Regions from separate parts of the Homo sapiens genome. Here regions 2 and 3 are each linked to region 1. The links are contacts of gene promoters, found by promoter capture Hi-C in human tissues and cell types (Jung and others, 2019). All regions are on one chromosome and are shown on one strand. The core of a region is centred on a gene start or on the middle of the fragment in contact, and the rest is flanking DNA. Distances in the headings are between cores, read along the strand shown.

What was found. The method cuts DNA at HindIII sites, captures the fragments that hold promoters and counts their contacts. A contact is called where the count stands out against the background at its distance.
Region 2: a fragment that was not itself captured here is called in contact with the fragment with the promoter of SNX10 in region 1 in 3 of the 25 tissues and cell types used here (liver, ovary and pancreas).
Region 3: a fragment that was not itself captured here is called in contact with the fragment with the promoter of SNX10 in region 1 in 2 of the 25 tissues and cell types used here (liver and thymus).

Annotation. Positions count from the first base shown.
Region 1 is chr7:26,290,581-26,293,934 of GRCh38, forward strand. It overlaps SNX10 (sorting nexin 10), which reads left to right and starts at 1,282. Exons shown (of 7, transcript NM_013322.3): 1 at 1,282-1,506. RefSeq lists silencers at 1,306-1,545, 1,696-1,775 and an enhancer at 3,267-3,316. The HindIII fragment of the contact is 12,028 bases long and covers 1-3,354 here.
Region 2 is chr7:26,251,450-26,254,795 of GRCh38, forward strand. No RefSeq gene overlaps it. Among named protein-coding and RNA genes, the nearest start is that of SNX10, 39 kb to the right of the region's middle. The HindIII fragment of the contact is 6,320 bases long and covers 1-3,346 here.
Region 3 is chr7:26,336,930-26,340,569 of GRCh38, forward strand. All of the region lies in intron 1 of SNX10 (sorting nexin 10), which reads left to right. Among named protein-coding and RNA genes, the nearest start is that of SNX10, 47 kb to the left of the region's middle. The HindIII fragment of the contact is 7,680 bases long and covers 1-3,640 here.

The sequences.
Region 1 (3,354 bases), core at 32-2,531:
CTTTCAGTAGACTCTCCAAGGGTTTGTTGCTGCTTTGTCTACAGCTGTAAAGTCATGCTCTTGACAATAAGTTCAGAAAGATTTTAATTTTACAGAATCTCTTAGGATCTTAGATACATGCTGCATTTTGTTTTCTACTCAATGTTTTTCTTTGCGGAGCATAGGGACAAGAATATAAAAAATACACTTTAATTTGATTTTCTTTCTTTTTTTTTTGAGACAGAATCTTGCTCTGTCGCCCAGGCTGGAGTGCAATGGCATGATCTCGGCTCACTGCAACCTCTGCCTCCCGGGTTCAAGCTATTCTCCTGCCTCAGCCTCCCGAGTAGCTGGGATTACAGGCGCGCGCCACCACGCCCAGCTAAGTTTTTGTATTTTTAGTAGAGACGGCATTTCACCATGTCAGCCAGGATGGTCTCCATCTCCTGACCTTGTAATCCACCCGCCTCGGCCTCCCAGAGTGCTGGGATTACAAGCGTGAGCCACCACACCAGCTTAATTTGATTTTCAAAAGTGATCATGGTTGCATTCACTTGTGTGTCATGACTTGGGTGCAATTTTAGGAAATTAAATACCAGTGATTGAGGGTTCAGCAATACAACTTCAAGATCCAAGATGTTAAGACACAACATTGTATATTTATACGTTTTGTTAGGGAGTTAATGTAGGTGTGGTGAACAGATGCGTTTTCAGGTGGGCCTGGAATGGTCCCTGGAGGATGATCAGCGACAAGCTGTATCTAATGGGAAAATTCATGCTTGAAAAATGAAATATTAGGCTATGCTTATTATTCTGTGTCATTCAGTCACTTATTAGCAGTTTAAGTGATGATTGTGGTTTCCCATGCAAACAGGTGTGGGGACCCAGCCTCAGGTGCCATTTGGGAAATGCTTTCCTCAGTCAGGTCCCTTGGCAGATCTCATTAGCTTTCCCCCCAAATGTTTTATTGAGACATTTCAAACATAGACAAAAACTGAAATAATTTTATATAAACACCATAGCCCACCACCTAGATGCTATGAACATTCTGCCATTCTTGTTTATCACGTTATTTATCCGTCCTCCTCCCCATCGGCAATCCTCCCCATAACTGTGGGGTCAGGGTTAGGAAGCTTAAGGTGACTCAGGTGGCGAATTCCGAAGGGTGCCGCTGGAGCACCTCCAGCCTCAACGTCCGGACTAATGGGGGCATTTCCTCCCTAACTCAATTTCAGGAAGCAGGAGGCTAGCTCTGCAGGGTGGGGGCGCACCTGGGCTGGGCTGCGCGGAGGCGGCGGAAGCACTAGGCGCGGCGCCCACAGGCGGACGGCTGGCGCTGAGCGCGGGCGCGGGGCCGCTACGTGCGCGGGGAGCGCGGGGAGCGCGGGGAGCGCGGGGCTGCGCTCGTGTGCGCTCCTGGGCGCTCGCCGCCGCCGCTGCCGCCGCGCGCCTTTGAGTCAGCAAACTCCGCGGCCCGCAAGCCCGGCTCGGCCCGGCCCTGCTCTGTTCTGCCCGGAGGAGCCGCCCGTAAGTGACAAGAGACCCGCTGAGGGGGCCTCCCCTGCACCGCCCAGGTGGGGACGGCGGCCCTTCTTTCCAGAGGCGCGGGCCCTTCCCGCTGTTCCCAGGTGCCCGCACCCTTGCGGGCTGGAAAGAGGTTTGGGTCCCTTGGGCTTGGAGCAGAGGAGCCGCCTCCTTTTCAGCCGAGGTGTGCCGGGCAGGGAGAAATGATCAGCGCGGTAGAGCGGGGAGATGGAGCGCGTCGATCCAGGGATTCTTGGCTAAAAAGACACCCCGGGGAGAGGGTGGGGCAGAGGTGGATTCTAGATTACGGAAGAAGTGCTGTGGCACCTTACACCAGGCCGGGTAGAAGGGGGTGGGGAGGTGGTTTTTAAAATTTATTTATTTATTTTTTTATTCATTCATTAACGGGTAGCCTTGAGTTGAGGAATTGGGAGGGGTAGGCAGGTTTATTCGTGGGATTGTGGGATTGAGGGAGAAGGCCCAGGGGAAAATCCATATAATTGACTGATTATCAGATTTGGTGACCAGGAAAGCAACAGCCTGTTTTTCAGTTCCGATGCATCATACTTTTCTCAAATTACACGGATTATTGAGGGGGATCGTCACGGAATGGGGAGCAACATGTCCTGCTGAAAGGAAGGGCTTCTATCTCTACAAGACACGTTAAAAATGATGGTATCAGAAAATTAGAACGGGGAGGAGGCTTGCACATGATCTCCATCAAACCTTTCATTTTACAGACAGGGAGGCTAAGGCCGAGGGACGCTGAGTGTTGGGACCAGGATCATTCAGCCAGATGGGAGCAGAACCAGGCCTACAACCTGGCAGGCTTCTGACTTCCACCCCGGAGTTATGTCCACCTCTGGGGCCTGGGAACTGGGTTTGGATTGCATAAGCTCCCCCTCCTCTCCCAGGAGGGGGCTGGGCTGGAGGCTGAGGCCTTCGCCAGGAAGAAGCAGGGACTGCTTGGATAGTTGACCAGCTTCTGCAGGGGCTCCTCAGTGAGAGAATGGAGGTGAGGTCAGGGACTCCTGCCTTGCCTCTGCCATCACTTCCAGTGATGCCTATTCCTAAGGTAGGTACATAGCTGGACCTTCATTATTCTTAATATTATTTACTTTTTTCTTTTTCTTTTGAGACAAGGTATTATTCTGTCACCCAGGCTGGATTGCAGTGGTGCGATCTTGGCTCACTGCAAACTCCACCTCCCAGGCTTCAGTGATCCTCCCACCTCAGCCTCCCTAGTAGCTGAGACCACAGGTGCGGGCCACCACACCCCTGGCTAACTTCGGTATTTTTTTTGTAGAGACAGGGTTTTGCCATGTTGCCCCAGGCAGGTCTGGAAGTCCTGAGCTCAAGCAATCCACCTGCCTCGGCCTCCCAAAGTGCTAGGATTACAGGGGTGAGCCACTGCGCTCGGCCTTTTATTACTATTTTTTAAAGGAAGGGTAGACTTGAGATTGACTGATAGGGCAGTTTTTAATAAAAATACAAAAATAAAATACATTTAGAAGAAACTGTGTGAAGATGTGAAATATCAGTGATTAGCATGGACTCAACTGGTCGTCCTGTTTCTTCTACCAGTCCATTTCATTCTCACTTTTGATTACCATTTAACTGGGGAGGACATCAGTGTTGACAGTGGGACTTGCTCAGGCTGACACTGTGCCCCACCAGGGAGTCTCCCCTCCAGGCTGGTACACACTTCCTCTTATTTTACTAATGGGAAGGACCCCTGAGTTAGGTAACCTAAAGTAATAGAAATAAGCACGTTCATTAAAAAAAATAAAAGTATGTTAATCAAAGAGTAACGTTGGTGTTCTACAGCAATTCTGCTGGGCTTTGGAGCAG
Region 2 (3,346 bases), core at 16-2,515, 39 kb before region 1:
AATCCCAGCACTTTGGGAGGCTGAGGTGGGGAGATCACCTGAGGTCAGGAGTTCGAGACCAGCCTGGCCAACATGGTGAAACCCCGTCTCTACTAAAAATACAAAAATTAGCCAGGCTTGGCGGCAGGTGCCTGTAATCCCAGCTACTCATGCCGCTGAGGCAGGAGAATCACTTGAACCCCGGAGGCGGAGGTTGCAGTGAGCCAAGATCATGCCATTGCACTCCAGCCTGGGCAATAAGAGTGAGACTCAGTCTCAAAAAAAAAAAAACAACAAAAACAGTAATGGGACAAATCACTATGTGCTTTCTGATGTGTGGCAGGAAAACCTATCACTGTGTGTTTTTCGCCAAAAATGCATAGATTGAATCTAATCATAAGAAATTATCAGGTAAGCCTAAATTTCAGAACAATCTACAATATAACTAAACTGTTCTTTTTAAAAATGTCAAGGTCATGAAAGACATGAAAGCCTGAGGAACTGTGCCAAATTGGAAAGACTAAAGAGGCAGAATAAGTACGTGCAATTCAACCTTGGATTGGACCCCAGACCTATAAATGACATCATTAGGATGACTGGTGAAATTTGAATGAGTTCTGTGGATAAATGAAAATGTAATATCTGGCCGGGCGCAGTGGCTCACGCCTGTAATCCTAGCACTTTGGGAGGCCGAGGCGGGCAGATCACGAGGTCAGGAAATGGAGACCATCCTGGCTAACACGGTGAAACCCCGTCTCTACTAAAAATACAAAAATTAGCCGGGCGAGGTGGCGGGCGCCTGTAGTCCCAGCTACTCCGGAGGCTGAGTCAAGAGAATGGCGTGAACCCCAGGGGGTGGAGCCTGCAGTGAGCCGAGATCGCGCCACTGCACTCCAGCCTGGGCGACAGCGAGACTCCGTCTCAAAAAAAAAAAACAAAAAACAAACAAACAAAATATATATATATGTATATATATATGTGTATATATATGTTTATTTCTTTATTTTGTGAGTATTACGTGGTTAATTAGGAGAGTGGTTTTCATTTTAGGAAATATGCACTGAAAGTATTACGGGGTAATGGAACTTCATATCCTCAATTTATTCTAAAAGTGTTCAGAAAAATAGAGTCTGGGCTCAGTGGCTCATGCCTGTAATCCTAGTACTTTGAGAGGCCAAGGTGGGAGGATAGCTTGAGCCCAGAAGTTCAAGACCATCCTGGGTAACACAGTGAGACCCCATCTCTATTTAAAAAAAGAGAGAGAGAAAAAAAAAAAAAACTGTGTGGCCAGGCGCAGTGGCTCATGCCTGTAATCCCAGCACTTTGGGAGGCCGAGATGGGCGGATCACCTGAGGTCGGGAGTTCAAGACCAGCCTGACCAACATGGAGAAACCTGGTTTCTACTAAAAATACAAAATTAGCCGGGCATGGTGGCACATGCCTGTAATCCCAGCTACTTGGGAGGCTGAGGCAGGAGATTCACTTGAACCCGGGAAGCGGAGGTTGTGGTGAGCCAAGAGCACGCCATTGCACTCCAGCCTGGGCAACAAGAGCGAAACTCCATCTCAAAAAAAAAAAAAAAAAAAAAAAAAAGCATTTGTGTGTGTATGTGTCTTGAGAGAGAGATAGAATAATAAGACAAATGTGATAGAACGTCAATAATTGGGTCATCTGAATGAAAATTTTATGGGAGTTCTTTGTAGTGTACTTGTAAGTTTTCTATAAGCTGAAATTATTTAAAAATAAAAAATTAAGATAATGTTTAAAAATAAATCACCATGCCTACAAGAAAATTTTTCTAACCTTTCAAGGAACAGATAATTCCAATTTAATACAAGGCTTCCAAAGGATATAAAAAGAAGAAACAGTCCTCAATTTAGTCTATGAGGCTAGTGTGATCTTGATACCTAAACTAGATATGGATAATATAAAAAATGAAAATTACAGACTAATCCCACTCGTAAACATAGGTGTGAAACTAAACAAAATATTAGTTTTTGTTTAGTTTCAAAACTGAATGCAACAAAACATAGAAAAGATACTACAACTTAAGTTCACTTTATCCCTGAAATATATTTCATCTAACACTAAAAATTTTTGTAAATGTAATTTATTACATTAATAGATTAAAGAAAAAAACACATTCTCAATAGTTGTAGGAAAAGCGTTTATGGAAAAACCCTTAGCAAACCAAGACTAGAGAGCAATTCTTGTTAGCCAAATAAAGACTATCTACAAAAACCTATAGTAAACATCATTCTTAGTAAAACTTTAGAAACTTTCTCTTTAAAAACCAGGATCAAGAAGAGGATGCTCACTGTTCTCATTTCTAGAGCTTGTAACCAATGCAGTAAGACAAGAAAGGGAGGGAGGAAGGAAAGGAGAGGAGAAGGAGAAAAGGGAGGTGGGCAGGTATTAGGAGTGAAAAGGAAGAAACAAAACTGGTTTTATTCAGAGATGATATAAATGTTTACATAGAAAACTCAAAATCCTTTAGACAAATTATTATAGTTAATAAGCTTAGTAAGATAGCTGGATATAAAGTCAATACACAAAATTCAATTACATTTTAGATTCATCAGCCTCAAAGAAAATATAATATCCCAAATGATATCAGTAACAAGAGCAAAATAGAGAACCTACTAATAAATTTAATAAAAGATGTGCAAGAAATTAAAGGAGACCTAAATAAATGCAGAGTAAGTCATGAGCCAGGTTCCTGGATAGGGAGATATAATCTCTAAAAATATGGTTTAAGAGCATAAACTTGATGGTTGACAAGTTATTTATCTGACTTATCTGCAAAATGGAGGTAATAATAGCACTTACCTCACAGGGCTGTTATGAGTATTACAAGATAATGCATACAAGAGGGATTAGAACGATGCCTGCCATGTAGGAAAGTTGTCTTGCACCATGCAGTGATCTTGAAATCAGAAGCCACACACAGCAGAGCAAAAAAATAAAATCCTGGTTCCCTGAACAACACTGCAGTGACCACCTCTCAGTTTTTATGTGAGAGTGAAATACACTTTTTTTTTTTCAAGACAGGGTCTTTCTCTGTTGCCCAGACTAGAGCGCAGTGGTATGATCACGGCAGTCTGAAACTCCTTGGCTCAAGGGATCCTCCCACCTAAGCCTCCCAAGTAGCTGGGACTACACGCATGCACCATGCTCCCTGGCTAAATTTTGTATTTTCTCGTAGCGACGGAGTCTCCTTATGTTGCCTGGTCTTGAGCTCCTGGGCTCCAGTGATCTTCTCGCCTTGGCCTCCCAAAATGCTGGGATTATAGGCATAAGCCACCACGCCCAGCCCGGCCCAAATGCTTTTTTTTTTTTTCTTTGGAGATGGAGTCATGCTTTGTTG
Region 3 (3,640 bases), core at 674-3,173, 47 kb after region 1:
GCACTGATATTTTTTTAGATTGAGTTCCCAGAGGTCAAATTATCGAGTTAAAGAATATAAACAATTTATATTGTTGCTTTTGAAATATATGGCCAAATTATCTTTCAGAAATATTGAAATAGCTCACATTCCTACCAACAGTATTTAGTTCCCATTTCTCATGATCCTTGCCAGCAGTGGATATTATTACAGAAATTTCTAATTTTAAAGAAAAAAATATGGTACTTGTTTTTATTTGCACTTCTGTTAATAGCAAGATGAAACATTTAAGTAGATTATTGACCTTCTTTCAAAAACTTTATTTTTAATTGTGGTAAGAAACACATGAAATTTGCAATCTTACCCATTTTTATTATTTTTTTCACATGGTCTACACCATACTAGTGTATAGACCTTACCACTTTTTAAATGTACACTTCAGTAGCGTTAAGTGTATTCACATTGTTGTACAATAGATCTCTAGATCTTTTTCATTCACAGAAGTGAAACTCTGTATCAGTAAACAAGAATGTTCCATTTCCCCCTTAAATGCTCCTTTCACCCTTTCCTCTAGCCCTTGGCAACCACCATTCTACTTTGTCTTTATCAATTTAATTTCCTTGAAAACCTCATGTAAGTGGAATAATAAAGGATTTGTCTTTTTATGATTGGATTATTTCATTTAGCATAATGTCCTTAAGGTTCGTCCTCTTTTGTAGCATGTGGCAGAATTTCCTTCCCTTTTAAGGTTGAATGGTACCCATTGTATGGAGAGACCACATTTTGCTCATCCATTACATTTCATTGATGGACACTTAGGTTACTTCCACCTCTTGGCTATTGTGAATAATACTGCTGTGGATGTGGACCCACAAATAGCTCTTTGAGAGCCTGCTTTCAGCTCTTTTGGATGGATATCTGGAAGTGGAATTCCTGGATCATGTGGTAGTTTTCTGTAATTTTTTGAGGAACTGCTATACTGTTTTCTATAGCAGCTGCACCATTTTACATTGCTGCCAACAGAAGGGTTCCGATTTCTCCATATCCTCCTCAATGCTTTTTTGGTTTTTTGTTTCTTGGATCTATCCTAACGGGTGTGAGTTAATTTCTCATTGTGGATTAGTGATGTTGAGCATGTTTTCATATGTTTATTGGCCCTTTGCACGTCATCTTTGGAGAAACGTCTATCAATTCCTTTGTCCTTTTTTTTTTTTTTTTTTTTCTGTGAGACAGAGTCTTACTCTGTCACCCAGGCTGGAGTGCAGTGGCATGGTCTTGGCTCACTGCAGCCTCTGCCTCCCTGGCTCAAGCAGCCCTACAACACCAGCCTCCCGAGTGGCCTGGATTTCAGGCACATGCCACCATGTCTGGCTAATTTTTGTGTATTTTGTAGAGGTGGGATAGTAACTTCCCAATGAGTTCACCTTGCCCACTGCCTAGACAGAGCCAATTTATAAAGACGGGAATTGAAACGGCGAGAGAGTAATTTACGCAGACCCCGCTGTGTGGGAGACCAGCGTTGTTGCTGTTGTTTTGAGACTGCATCTCGCTCTGTTGCCCAGGCCTGGAGTGCAGTGGCGTGATCTTGGTTCACGCCATTCTCCTACGTCAGCCTCCCGAGTAGCTGGGACTACAGGCGCCCGCCACCACACCTGGCTAATTTTTTGTATTTTTAGTAGAGACGGGGTTTCACCGTGTTGTTAGCCAGGATGGTCTCGATCTCCTGACCTCGTGATCCGCCCACCTCGGCCTCCCAAAGTGCTGGGATTACAGGTGTGAGCCACTGGGCCCGGCCGGATTAGAGTTTTTAAAGACAATTTGGCGGGTAGGAGCTTAGGAAGTAGGGAGTGCTGATTGGTCAGGTTGGAGATGGAATCGTAGGGGGGTCAAAATGAGGTTTTCTTCCTGTCTTCTGTGCCTGGGTGGGATGGCAGAACTGCTTGAGCCAGATTACCACTCTGGGTGATATCAGCTGATCCTTCCAGTGCAGTTGCAGGGTCTGCAAAGTATCTAAAGCATGGATCTTAGGTTTTGCAATAACGATGTTATCCCCAGGAGCAATTTAGGAAGGTTCAGACCCTTGGAGCCAGAGACTACATGGCCCCTAAATTGTAATTTCTAATCTTGTAGCTAATTTGTTAGTTCTGCAAAGGCAGACTGGACCCCAGGCAAGAAAGGGGTCTTTTCGGGAAAGGGCTGTTACCAGTTTTGTTTCAGAGTCAAACCATGAACTGAATTCCTTCCCGAAGTTAGTTCAGCTTATGCCCAGGAATGAATAAGGACATCTTAAGCGTTAGAAGCAAGATGGAGTCGGTTAGGTCTGATTTCTTTCACTGCCATAATTTCCTCAGTTATAATTTTGCAAAGGCGGTTTCAGGATTTCGCCATGCCGCCCAGACTGGTCTCAAACTTTGAGGTCAAGTGATCCTCCCACCTCAGCATCCCAAAGTGCTGGGATTACAGGCATGTGCCCGGTCTTGCATATTTTTTAAATCGGATTTTTTATTTGTATAAATTTATGGGGTTCAAGTGCAATTTTCTTACATGCCAGGTTGCACAGTGGTGAAGTCAGGCATTTAGGGTTTTTTTCTTTGTTTTTGTTTGTTGTTGTTGAGCTTGATCTTTTTTTTTTTTCTTTTTTTTTTGACAGAGTCTCACTCACCCAGGTTGGAGTGCAGTGGCATGATCTCGGCTCACTGTAACCTCTGCCTCCCAAGTTTAAGCGATTCTCCTGCCTCAGCCTCCCGAGTAGCTGGAATTACAGGGTAGCTGGGATTACAGGCGCCTGCCACCATGCCTGGCTAATTTTTCTATTTTTAGTAGAGACGGGGTTTCACCATATTGGCCAGGGTGGAGTCTCGAACTCCTGACCTTGTGATCCACCTGCCTTGGCCTCCCAAAGTACTGGGATTACAGGCGTGAGTCACCCCACCTGGCCGATCTTTTTTTTTTTTTTTTAAATAGTTGGTTCTGAGACTTTGATCTTGCCAAAAGAAAAAGTTACAAAAAATTTTGTTTAAAAATTAAATTGGCTTTTATTAGTGATTCATGAATCAGGGAGCACCTGATCTAAAGATTTAGAAAAAGTCTTTGCCGTTTTTTTTTTAAATAATGATATAAACCATACTTGTTATTCCTTATTTCATCATTTGAAAAAATATGTGATCCTTTCTCACTCCTTACATGTATAGTCCACAAACTTTTGGTCAGTAGTTTACTTGTCAGTGAGATCTCCCATAGGCATATAGACCAAGCCTAGCATTGCAAATGTTTTGGCCTGTTGACCTCAGAAAGGTATTATTAAGGTATAGTATATATAAGTACTGAAGGCACAGTAATGGCTTGCTCTGTAGTAGGGGTCTGCAAACTACTGCCACCAGTTTTTGTAGATAAAGTTTAACTGGAACCCAGCCATGTTCATTCAGTTAGGCATCTGTGAGTGCCTTTTCACTATGCACTGCAGACTTGAGTAGGAGATGCAGAGACCCTGTGGCCTACAAAACCTCAAATATTTACTATCTGACCCTCTACAGAAAAAGATTGCCAAGTGGTACTTTATAGAATTTTATCTTTGCTTCATAGATATTTTGCATTTTATAGAAAAAGTATTCCAAGGTAGAAAATAGAGGAAGCTTTCTCCTCGAGTTTTCGGTTTGGGCAG